Linked DNA regions of Homo sapiens: region 1 is linked to region 2. Evidence: promoter capture Hi-C in human tissues and cell types (Jung and others, 2019). All regions are on one chromosome and are shown on one strand. The core of a region is centred on a gene start or on the middle of the fragment in contact, and the rest is flanking DNA. Distances in the headings are between cores, read along the strand shown. Region 1 overlaps SLC25A33 (solute carrier family 25 member 33). Region 2 holds the start of SPSB1 (splA/ryanodine receptor domain and SOCS box containing 1).

The links. The method cuts DNA at HindIII sites, captures the fragments that hold promoters and counts their contacts. A contact is called where the count stands out against the background at its distance.
Region 1: a contact is called between a fragment that was not itself captured here and the fragment with the promoter of SPSB1 in region 2, in 1 of the 25 tissues and cell types used here (pancreas).

What each region holds. Positions count from the first base shown.
Region 1 is chr1:9,563,827-9,568,932 of GRCh38, reverse strand. SLC25A33 (solute carrier family 25 member 33) reads right to left here. Exons shown (of 7, transcript NM_032315.3): 3 at 1,572-1,649. Among named protein-coding and RNA genes, the nearest start is that of TMEM201, 23 kb to the left of the region's middle. The HindIII fragment of the contact is 4,117 bases long and covers 1-3,616 here.
Region 2 is chr1:9,291,416-9,296,224 of GRCh38, reverse strand. SPSB1 (splA/ryanodine receptor domain and SOCS box containing 1) reads right to left here and starts at 3,331. Exons shown (of 3, transcript NM_025106.4): 1 at 3,154-3,331. RefSeq lists silencers at 2,397-2,686, 3,227-3,296, 3,367-3,446, 3,497-3,666. The HindIII fragment of the contact is 10,751 bases long and covers 1-4,809 here.

The DNA.
Region 1 (5,106 bases), core at 309-2,808, 270 kb before region 2:
AAGAATTCTATAAGCTTTTGGTCTTCACCCTATATAAGACAACATTCTCATTTTTGTTGTAAGACTTCATTTTCTCTTTTTTTTTTTGAGACAGAGTCTCGCTCTGTCGCCCAGGCTGGAGTGCAGCGATCTCAGCTCACTGCAAGCTCCGCCTCCCGGGTTCATGCCATTCTCCTGCCTTAGCCTCCTGAGTAGTTGGGACTACAGGTGCCAGCCATCACGCCCGGCTAGTTTTTTGTATTTTTAGTAGAGACGGGGTTTCACCGCGTTAGCCAGGATGGTCTCGATCTCCTGACCCCGTGATCCCCCGGCCTCGGCCTCCCAAAGTGCTGGGATTACAGGCGTGAGCCACCGCACCCGGCCAGACTTCATTTTCTTTCAAGTCTCTTGGAGTATGACAAGTTAAGTGTCCTGCCCTGCCACCCAGTTCCCTTCTCAGGAGGTCCTTTCTGGAAGAAGTTTTTTTGTTTTGTTTTGTTTTTTCTTTTTGAGATGGAGTTTCACTCTTTCACCCAGGCTGCAGTGAAGCGGCATGATCTCAGCTCACTGCAACCTCTGCCTCCCACTGGGTTCAAGCAATTCTCCTGCCTCAGCCTCCAGAGTAGGTGGGATTACAGGTGCCTGCCACCATGCCTGGCTGATTTTTCATTTTTAGTAGAGATGGGGTTTCGCCAAGTTGGCCAGGCTGGTCTCCAATTCCTGACCTCTGGTGATCCACCTGCCTCAGCCTCCCAAAGTGCTGGGATTACACAGGTGAGCCACCACAGCCGGCCTGGAAGCAGTTTTTAATCTACTTTCCAGATATGCTATTCTCTATCTGTCTCTGTTACTTTTACAATCATACACTGTTATCCTCTCTATCCTATCTATCCAAGAGAACTTTCTGCCAAGATAGGATGCCCTGTATCTCTGCTCTTCAATACAGTAGCCATTAGCTGCATGTGGAGATTGAGTGCTTGAAACATGAAGACTGAGCAACTGAACCTTTAATTCTGATTAATTTACATTTAAACTGCTCCATGTGGCCAGTGACTACCCTTATGTACTGGGACAGTACAGTTCTGTATATTTCAAACAGGCTTTCAGGAGAAGCCCTGCAAAGATATGAGGATGTCATTTTACAGAAAGTGAAGTTAAAAGCCTTTACAATTCCTCTGGATCAGTGTTTCTAACTGCGTTGGAGTCACCTGGGGGTTCTGTTAAAATGCAGATTCTGATGTAGGTCTGGGATGTGCCCTGGGATTGTGTGTTTATAACAAGCTCTCATACAATACTAATGCTGCTGGCCACATGCCATACTTAGAGTAGCAAACACTTAAAGTACATTACAGTAATGATAGCAGATTAATTTTCACACTTAAGAATATAAAGAATACAGTAAGTAGAATCCTTTCTTTCACACACTGAAGACACGCCTAGCATTCTCAATGACTATTTGCTATGTCCGCTATATTTAGGCAAATCCAACATAGAAAAAGACACTGGTCATTCAGCAGCATCACCCTTTGGTAAGAAAGGACCCAGAATTCCATACTGCTTAGCATGAGCTAGCTGGAAAGTTTAATGCTTACCTTGATGGTGCAACTCCAACCAAATTTGGACCCAAGCCTCTAAAAAGTGACTTTGGTCCCTCTTTCTCCAAGATCGACCTGAATAATAAGAAAAGACAAACCTTTAAAACCCCTCAGGCAAGGCCTATTAAAAATGATAAAGAGTCAACCTTCTCATTAGTTCCTTGAGAGAATAAAATGTTTGAGAGATGTCAAGCTCGACTCTTATCTGATTTGGTTACAATACAGAATCGGAAGGCTGTAGAATACTGCTATCATTAGCACAGTGAAAAAACATGCCTCAAAAAGCATCAGTTAGACATATTTTCTTTCTCTCCCTTTTTTTTTTCTTTTTGAGATGGAGTCTCGCTCTGTTGCCCAGGCTGGAGTGCAGTAACATGATCTCGGCTCACTGGAACCTCTGCCTCCTGGGTTCTAGCAATTCTCCTGCCTCAGCCTCCCAAGTAGCTGGGATTACAGGCACTCACCACCACACCCAGCTAATTTTGTATTTTTATTTATTTATTATTATTATTTAGACGGAGTTTCACTCTTGTTGCCCAGGCTGGAGTGCAATGGCGTGATCTCGGCTCACTGCAACTTCCGCCCCCCAGGTTGAAGCGTTTCTCCTACCTCAGCCTCCCGAGTAACTGGGATTAAAGGCATGCACCACCACGCTCAGCTAACTTTATATTTTTAGTAGAGATGGGGTTTCTCCATGCTGGTCAGGCTGGTCTTGAACTCCTCACCTCAGGTGATCTGCCCGCCTCAGCCTCACAAAGTGCTGGGATTACAGGCATGAGCCACCACACCCGGCCCAACACAGGAGGAAGCTGTGCAGAGTCTGTACTATACAATGAAATCCTGTGAAAGCAGGATGAGTATCTGGCAGAGGGTGCCACACAGGGAATAATTTCCTCATCATAATAAGATTCACTGAGAAACAGGTTCAGAGATTTCTTTTGGATTTACTGCTTCTAACAATCCTATCTTCTAGATCTTTACCTAATGTAGTAGAATCTTATACAGGGATATAAAGAATAGAGCCAGCTCAGTGCTCATACCTGTAATCCCAGCATTTTGGGAGGTCCAGGTAGGAGGATCACTTGAACCCAGGAGTTCCAGACCAGCCTGAGCAACACAGTATAAACCCCATCTATACAAAAAATGAAAAATATTAGCCAGGTGTGGTGGTGTGTGCCTGTGGTCCCAGCTACTCAGGAGGCTGAGGTAAGAGGATCACTTAGCCTGGGAGGTCAAGGCTGCAGTGAGCCATGATCATGCCACTGCACTCCAGCTTTAGCGACAGAAAGAGACCCCTTGTCTCAAAAATTAAAAACAAAAAAAAAGTTGGCGGGGGAGGGCAGAATTTAAGGAATAGAAAACTAATAATTTTCATGGACGGATGACGGTTATTTAAAACCAAAGCCTAGTATCTCAAGTCCAAAGATTATACCGTGACTGCTTTTCGTTTTTCATTTTCTTTTCTTTGTTTTTTTTTTTTTGAGACAGAGTCTCACTCTGTCACCCAGGCTGGAATGCAGTGGTGCAATCTTGGCTCACTGCAAGCTCCGCCTCCCAGGTTCACACCATTCTCCTGCCTCAGCCCCCCGAGCAGCTGGGACTACAGGCACCCGCCACCACGCCCGGCTAATTTTTTGTATTTTTAGTAAAGACGGGGTTTCACTGCATTAGCCAGGATGGTCTCAATCTCCCGACCTGATGATCCGCCTGCCTTGGCCTCCCAAAGTGCTGGGATTATAGGCGTGAGCCAATGCACCCAGCCAACTGCTTTAATTTTAAACTTTTTTTTTTGTGATGACATACACATAATAGAAAATCTACCATTGTAACCTTTTTTTTTTCTGAGACAGAGTCTCGCTCTGTTGCCCAGGCTGGAGTGCAGTGGCATGATCTCAGCTCACTGCAAGCTCCGCCTCCCAGGTTCATGCCATTCTCCTGCCTCAGCCTACCAAGTAGCTGGGACTACAGGCACCCACCACCACGCCCAGCTAATTTTTTGTATTTTTAGTAGACACAGGGTTTCACTGTGTTAGCCAGGATGGTCTTGAACTCCTGACCTCGTGATCCACCCACCTAGGCCTCCCAAAGTGCTGGGATTACAGGCGAGAGCCACATTGTAACCATTTTTAAGTGTACAGTTGAGTGACATTAAGTACATCCACACTGTTGTGCAACCATCACCACCATCTACCTCCAGAACCTTTTCATCTTTTCAAACTGAACTTTTGCACTCATTAAGCACCAGCTCCCTAGCCCTCCCTCCCGTCAGGCCCTGGCAGTCACCATTCTACTGTCTCTAATCTGACAACTCTAGGTATCTCTTATCAGTGGCGTCACATCTTTTTTTGTGACTGGCTTATTTCACTCAGTCTTTGAGGTTCATCCATGTTGTAGCATGTGTCACAATTTCCTTCTTTTTATTTTATTCCTTTTTTGAGACAGGGTCTTACTCCATCACCCAGGCTGGAGTGCAGTGGGACGATCTCGGCTCACAGCAACCTTCACCTCCTAAGTTCAAGCAATTCTTGTGCTTCAGCCTTCCCAGTAGCTAGGATTACAGGTGAGTGCCACCACGCTCAGCTAATTTTTGTGTATATATATATATATATATATATATATTTTTTTTTTTTTTTAAATAGAGACGAGGTGTCACCATGTTGGCCAGGCTGGTCTCGAACTTCTGGCCTCAAGTGATCCACCCACCTTGGCCTTACTAAGTGCTGGGATTACAGGCATGAGCCACTGTGCCCACCCAGAATTTCCTTTTTTTTAAAGGCTGAATATTATTCCACTGCTGTATATACCACATTTTATTATCCATTCACCCATCGATGGACACTTGGGTTGCTTCCACGTTTTGGCTATTATATGTAGTGCTGCTATAAACATGGGTGTACAAATATTTGTTTGAGTCCTTGCTTTGGATTCTTTTGTGGAATCCAAGTGGAATTGCTGGATCACACGGTAATCCTATGCCTAATTTTTTGAGAAACCACTAGGCTGTTTTCTATAGTGGTTACACCACCTTACATTCCCGCCTGCAATGTAAAAGGGGTTCCGATTTCTCTATAACCTCGCCAATGTGCTTTTCACACAAAAAAGTTAAATATTGTTTCCAATTAAAAGCGACTTAGAAAATCCTGAAAGGATTGTATGGAACATTCTTTAGAGGCATTTTTCCGCAGCAACACAGTTATTCACGTTGGTTAAATTTACTCTCTTCAATGGTTCAATTTCCATGGTATCCAGTAGAATTTACATTGTTATATAATGGTCTTCTCTAATTTAATCTCTTTTTCTTATGGAGGATTTCTCTTTACTAGTAGTACCATCCATTTGATAGCACTTAAGGTTGATCTAGCTCACAAATAATCATATGCTAGTCAAAAGTTAATAGAATGGCTGGGAGCAGTGGCTCACATCTGTAATCCTAGCACATTGGGAGGCCGAAGCGGGTGGATCACTTGAGGTCAGGGGTTCAAGACCAGCCTGGCAACATGGTGAAACCCCGTCTCTACTAAAAATACAAAAA
Region 2 (4,809 bases), core at 2,082-4,581:
ATGCGTCAAGGACTCAGATCAGAGCCAGTACTCGCACGCACCGTGAAACCATGAAACCATTTCCCGCTATTATTATGCTTAGGATTCAAACAAAGTCACGTCCATAAAGCACTCTGTAGCACAGAGCCGGGCACCTGGCTGCCAGTGGAACTTTAGACTGGGGGAGATGTTATCAGATAACTGGGGGAGGGGAGAGCACTCACTGAAAGTCCAAAATCGAAGTCCCTTAGAGTCTGGATTTCACTGATCTAGTGTTGAGGGCTGGGGAGAGGATAACACACCCCTGGGCAGACTGAGGCACACCTGTACCTGACCTTGTGCTGTCGTCTGATAAAATTTTTCAGAACCAAAAGATACACTGAGTCATGCACACCAGCTACAACCTATTTCTCGAGAAAAATTGATACAAAATGCCCAGACGAACTCATGAACACCGTAAGAATCAGAGGTTTCGCTGAATTTGAAAATGCGTCTGCAGGCAAGTTTCCATCCACCCAGGAGGAGGGGCAGGTGCAGGAAGGGAGCACGGCACACACCATGGGGGTGGGAGGGCAGCGCTGGCTTCCACGGGCTAGGCCCCCACCCCATTCCCCAGCTCTGGTGAAGAAATTCAACATCTGTGATGATTCCAAGGGGGTGAGATTCTGCAGCAGCCCAGAGGGACCCACTGAAGGGTGGATCCAGCCTTACTACAGCAGCCCAAGAAACGGCCTCACCCAGCTCCAAAGTGACATCACCAGGGCCCCAGGCAGGCCCACCCCTTCCTAAGAGCCCTGAAACCCACTGATTCTTCCCAGGGCCAGGTCTCTCTTAAGCCGGCATGGCACCCGCCTTGCTCCCTGCTCGGGGCTGTCTGAGCCACTGGGGCCAACATGCTACTGCTTTTGTTTTCTCTGCTGCTAGGGTGGTAGCCAGACTGGAAAAGGAAGACTTGTAAAGTGATTGCCTTAGTCCACTCCACACCTCCCCAACCGCACGCGCGCACACACACACACACACACACACACTCACACTCTCACACACACACACACACTCCATCTACTGGGTAAAGTGCTCCCTGCAGAAGAAAAGCAGCTGTAAGAGAGCAGGAGTGCTTTAAATGATCTAATCCAGCCCATCACTTCACAGCTGGGGAGACACGAAGTGCCTGGCCCATGACCTCAGTGCTGGGGACAGTAACCAAGAGCAACAGTTTCAGGACTGGGGAGTCTTGGTCCACAGCCCTGGCTGTGCAGTCTGGGTAAGTGAACCGCCCTCTCTGGGCCTCTCTAGGACAGGCTGGCCTAGACAGTAAGACAGGACTTCCCTGACTCCAAAATTCCTCAGTGTGGAGAGACCACCTGTGCTGCCCATGCTTAGCCCAGGGCTTTCCACCACTGGGAGGGGGGTCTGAGGAGGGGGACAGGGCAGAAGGGAGAGGCCCCCATCCCCTTCCTTGCTTGCTGTTCTCCTCACACCCCACGATGAGAAATGAAGTTGTGGGCCCAGCCCCCCCAACGAGAAAATTCTTCCAAGGACATCAAACCTTAGTCACCAGGGATGGCGCTTTTACCATGAACACCTGTTAAAACTCAACTCATGACCAGTTTCTGATGCTACAGACTGGAGTGTTTAATTAAATATTACTCACTCAGGAAGCAGCCCCTGCCAACTCACCCCCAAACTGTGTAGTTCATTTTCAGAGAAATGGAGAGAGGAAGAGCCTGCGCTCTCCTCGGGGGCACCAGCAGGGCTTGCCTAGTGGGGTGTCTGTGGCCCAGCATGCCCGGCTATCCAGAACCAAGTAAAGAAATCACCATGAGGAGCAGTACCTAGGAACCAGAGGGCCCCCTGGATGGTCCCCACACACACTCACAGAGAAACACACACAAAGACACACAGACACACACTTGGAGACACACAGACACTCACACATACACAGACGCACTCAGAGACACAGACACAGAGACAGACACAGAGACACGTGTGGACACACAAAGAGACACAAAGACACACACACGCAAAGACACACACAGACACAAAGACACAGAGACACACATTTGCAGAGACAGACACTCAGAGACACAAACTTGCAGAGACACACACCCAAAGACACATACACACTCACACACAGACACACACAAAGACACACAGACATACACAGAGAGGCACACACAAATACACAAAGACGCACTCAGACACACACACACACACACAGTCACTTAGAGTCTCAGGCACACATTGACAGACACACAGACTCACACACACACTCAGAGGCACATAAATACACAGATGCACTTAGAGACACACTCACACACACACCCACATGAACACACAGACACACTCATACGCAGGCACATATTCACAAGGACATGCACAAACACACACGCAGATGCACTCTCAGAGACACCCGCTCTTCCTGCAGACCCGCACCCTCCTCTCGGGGCCGTCCCGTCCTCACCGGAACCTGGACGCCACCGAGCCCAGTACACGCCCGGGGACGGTGACCCATCCGCGGTTCCTCCCGCGGGCCCAGGCCGCCCTTGTTTTTCTGATTTAATCGATTTCCTGACAACCCTCCGGCTCTCCCTCCGCTGCTGGGAGAAGCCGCGGCGGCTCCGGGGCGGCGGGGAGGGCGGCGCTCGGGTGTCCCCGGCAGGCTCCCTGGGGGAGGCGCTGCGGGAGGGTGGGGGCGCCCCGACGGGGGACCGGGCCGCGCCGCCAATCCCGACTCGGACTGGCGGGAAAAGCGAAACTAACTCAGCCGAGCGGGGTCCCGCTTTCCCCGGGCTAAAGGGGGGACGGGTCGGCGGCCCCGGAGCGCCCCAGCCCCTCCTCGGGACCGCAACTCGTTGCGACGGTCCCCGCGCCCCGAGACCCCCGCCGCGCCTCGCCCCGGGACCCCCTGCCCTGCAGCGGCGGCAGCGCGGGGCGGGCCTGGGCCCCTCTCCCAGGAGCCGCGGCGAGGGAGGCGCCCCCGGAGCCACCGCGGGAGGGGCCGCGCCCCGAGTCCCCATCCCGTACTCCACCCGCTCCCCCGCGCCCGGCCCCGCGCCACCCACTCGGTCCCCCAGCGGCGCGATCCCCGCGTCCGCCCTCGCCCGGCCCCCCGCGCCTCCCCCTCCCGGGCCGGTCGCCCACCCATCGGGGTCCCAGGTGCCCCGCGCCGCCTACCGCGCCCGGGGTGCCGCCGCCGCCGCTGCTCTCCAAGGCCGAGGAGGCTCGGGCGCCCGGGCCGCGCCCGCCGCAGGGAGCGAAGTCGCCTCCTCCCCGCGGCCCCGGCCCCGGCGCCGGCGCCTGGAGCCTGGTTCCTGCTGCGAGCGCGCAGGCTGCCCGAGCGCGACTTCTGTGCGGAGGAGAAAAAGCAACCGACGGCTTTAAAGTGAAAAAAAAGAGAAAAGCGCCGGTGGGCGGGGCCGTCCCTGCCCCGCCCCGCCCCGCCCCGCCCCCGACCTCGGGCGCACGGACCACTCAGCACTGCAGGGAAGGCCGGGGGCGCGGGGCGCGGGGCGCGGGGCGCGTCAGCCCGGCGCTGGTTCGGCCGCCCCCTCCGCCCCCTTAGTCCGCAGCCCTCTCCCGAGCCGCCGCCCTGGTGTTGCCGGCCCGAAGCTCGGGTCCCTCCGGAGGCGTCTTTGGGAAACGCGTGGCGCAGGGCCTGGGTTGCAGCCGTGGGAGGCTGGAGTGGGGGCGGGGGTCTTACGAGAAGGAGAAATCTTCGCGGAGAGTGGGGTTGTCCCAGGAACCCCGAGCAAGGCCTCGCCGGCCTCCTCTGAAGTGCCCAGCGGGGACGAGTGGGCAGCCGCCGGGGGTCCAGGGAGCCTCCTGCAGCGCTGTTTCGGCCGCTCGCGTTTCGGTGCCCACGGGGACGGGGGCCTCGGACCTCGAGACCCTGAGGGCGCGGGCACCTGGCATCCGCAGGGCTGCTCCCTGAACAGGTCCCAGCCTCTGGGGACTTGTCCTGTGGCTCTAGCTCGTTCAAGGAATTTTCCTCCCCCTTCCCCGAACAGAGCAGTCACTTGGGACTGGGAAGATTTTAAAGACTTTGCTGTTTTGAGAGCAAAATCTCCTGGCATTCCCCACCCCTCGCTGTGTAGTGTCCATTGAAAACGGTGAGGAGTTAGCCTTTCTGGGGGAGCCGAAACAAATAGCGGGGCTTCCGTAGTTACTGTGTCTTTACCATAACCCAGTACAGTGAGGGTGGGACTAATGACACACTCACTGTAAAGGCGAGGAAACAGTGCCTGGCCCGAGGCCAGCTGTCCAGAGCTTGGAACCCAATTGAACTGTGAGATTACAAAGTTTGATGTCTCTCATTTTACGGTGCTGAAAATCAGTTTGGTTTAGCTTTGTTTGAACTCAGAATAGGATTACGGAGACTCAACCAACTGCCCTGGGCTGGGCGGGCCTGAGTGGGCATTCTGACTTTCCAGGTGCCAGCGGTTTAGGAATGTTGAACCCAGACTAGTCAGGTGGGCAGCCATGGCCAGCAGCTTAGGGGTGCTTCCCATTTAAAAGATCACTTGAGGCTGGAGGTGGTGGCTCTCACGCCCTTAATCCCCACACTTTGGGTGGCTGAGGCAGGCAGATCACTTAAGCCCAGGAGTTCAAGAGCAGCCCGGGCAACAGAGCAAGACACAGACTCTGCACAAAAATTAAATAATAATAATAATAATTGGCCGGGCATGATGGCTCACACCTGTAATCCCAGCGCTTTGGGAGGCTGAGGCAGGTGGATCACCTGAGGTCAGAAGTTCAGGACCAGGCTGGGCTTGGTGGCTCACACCTGTAATCCCAGCACTTTGGGAGGTCGAGGCGGGCGGATCACGAGGT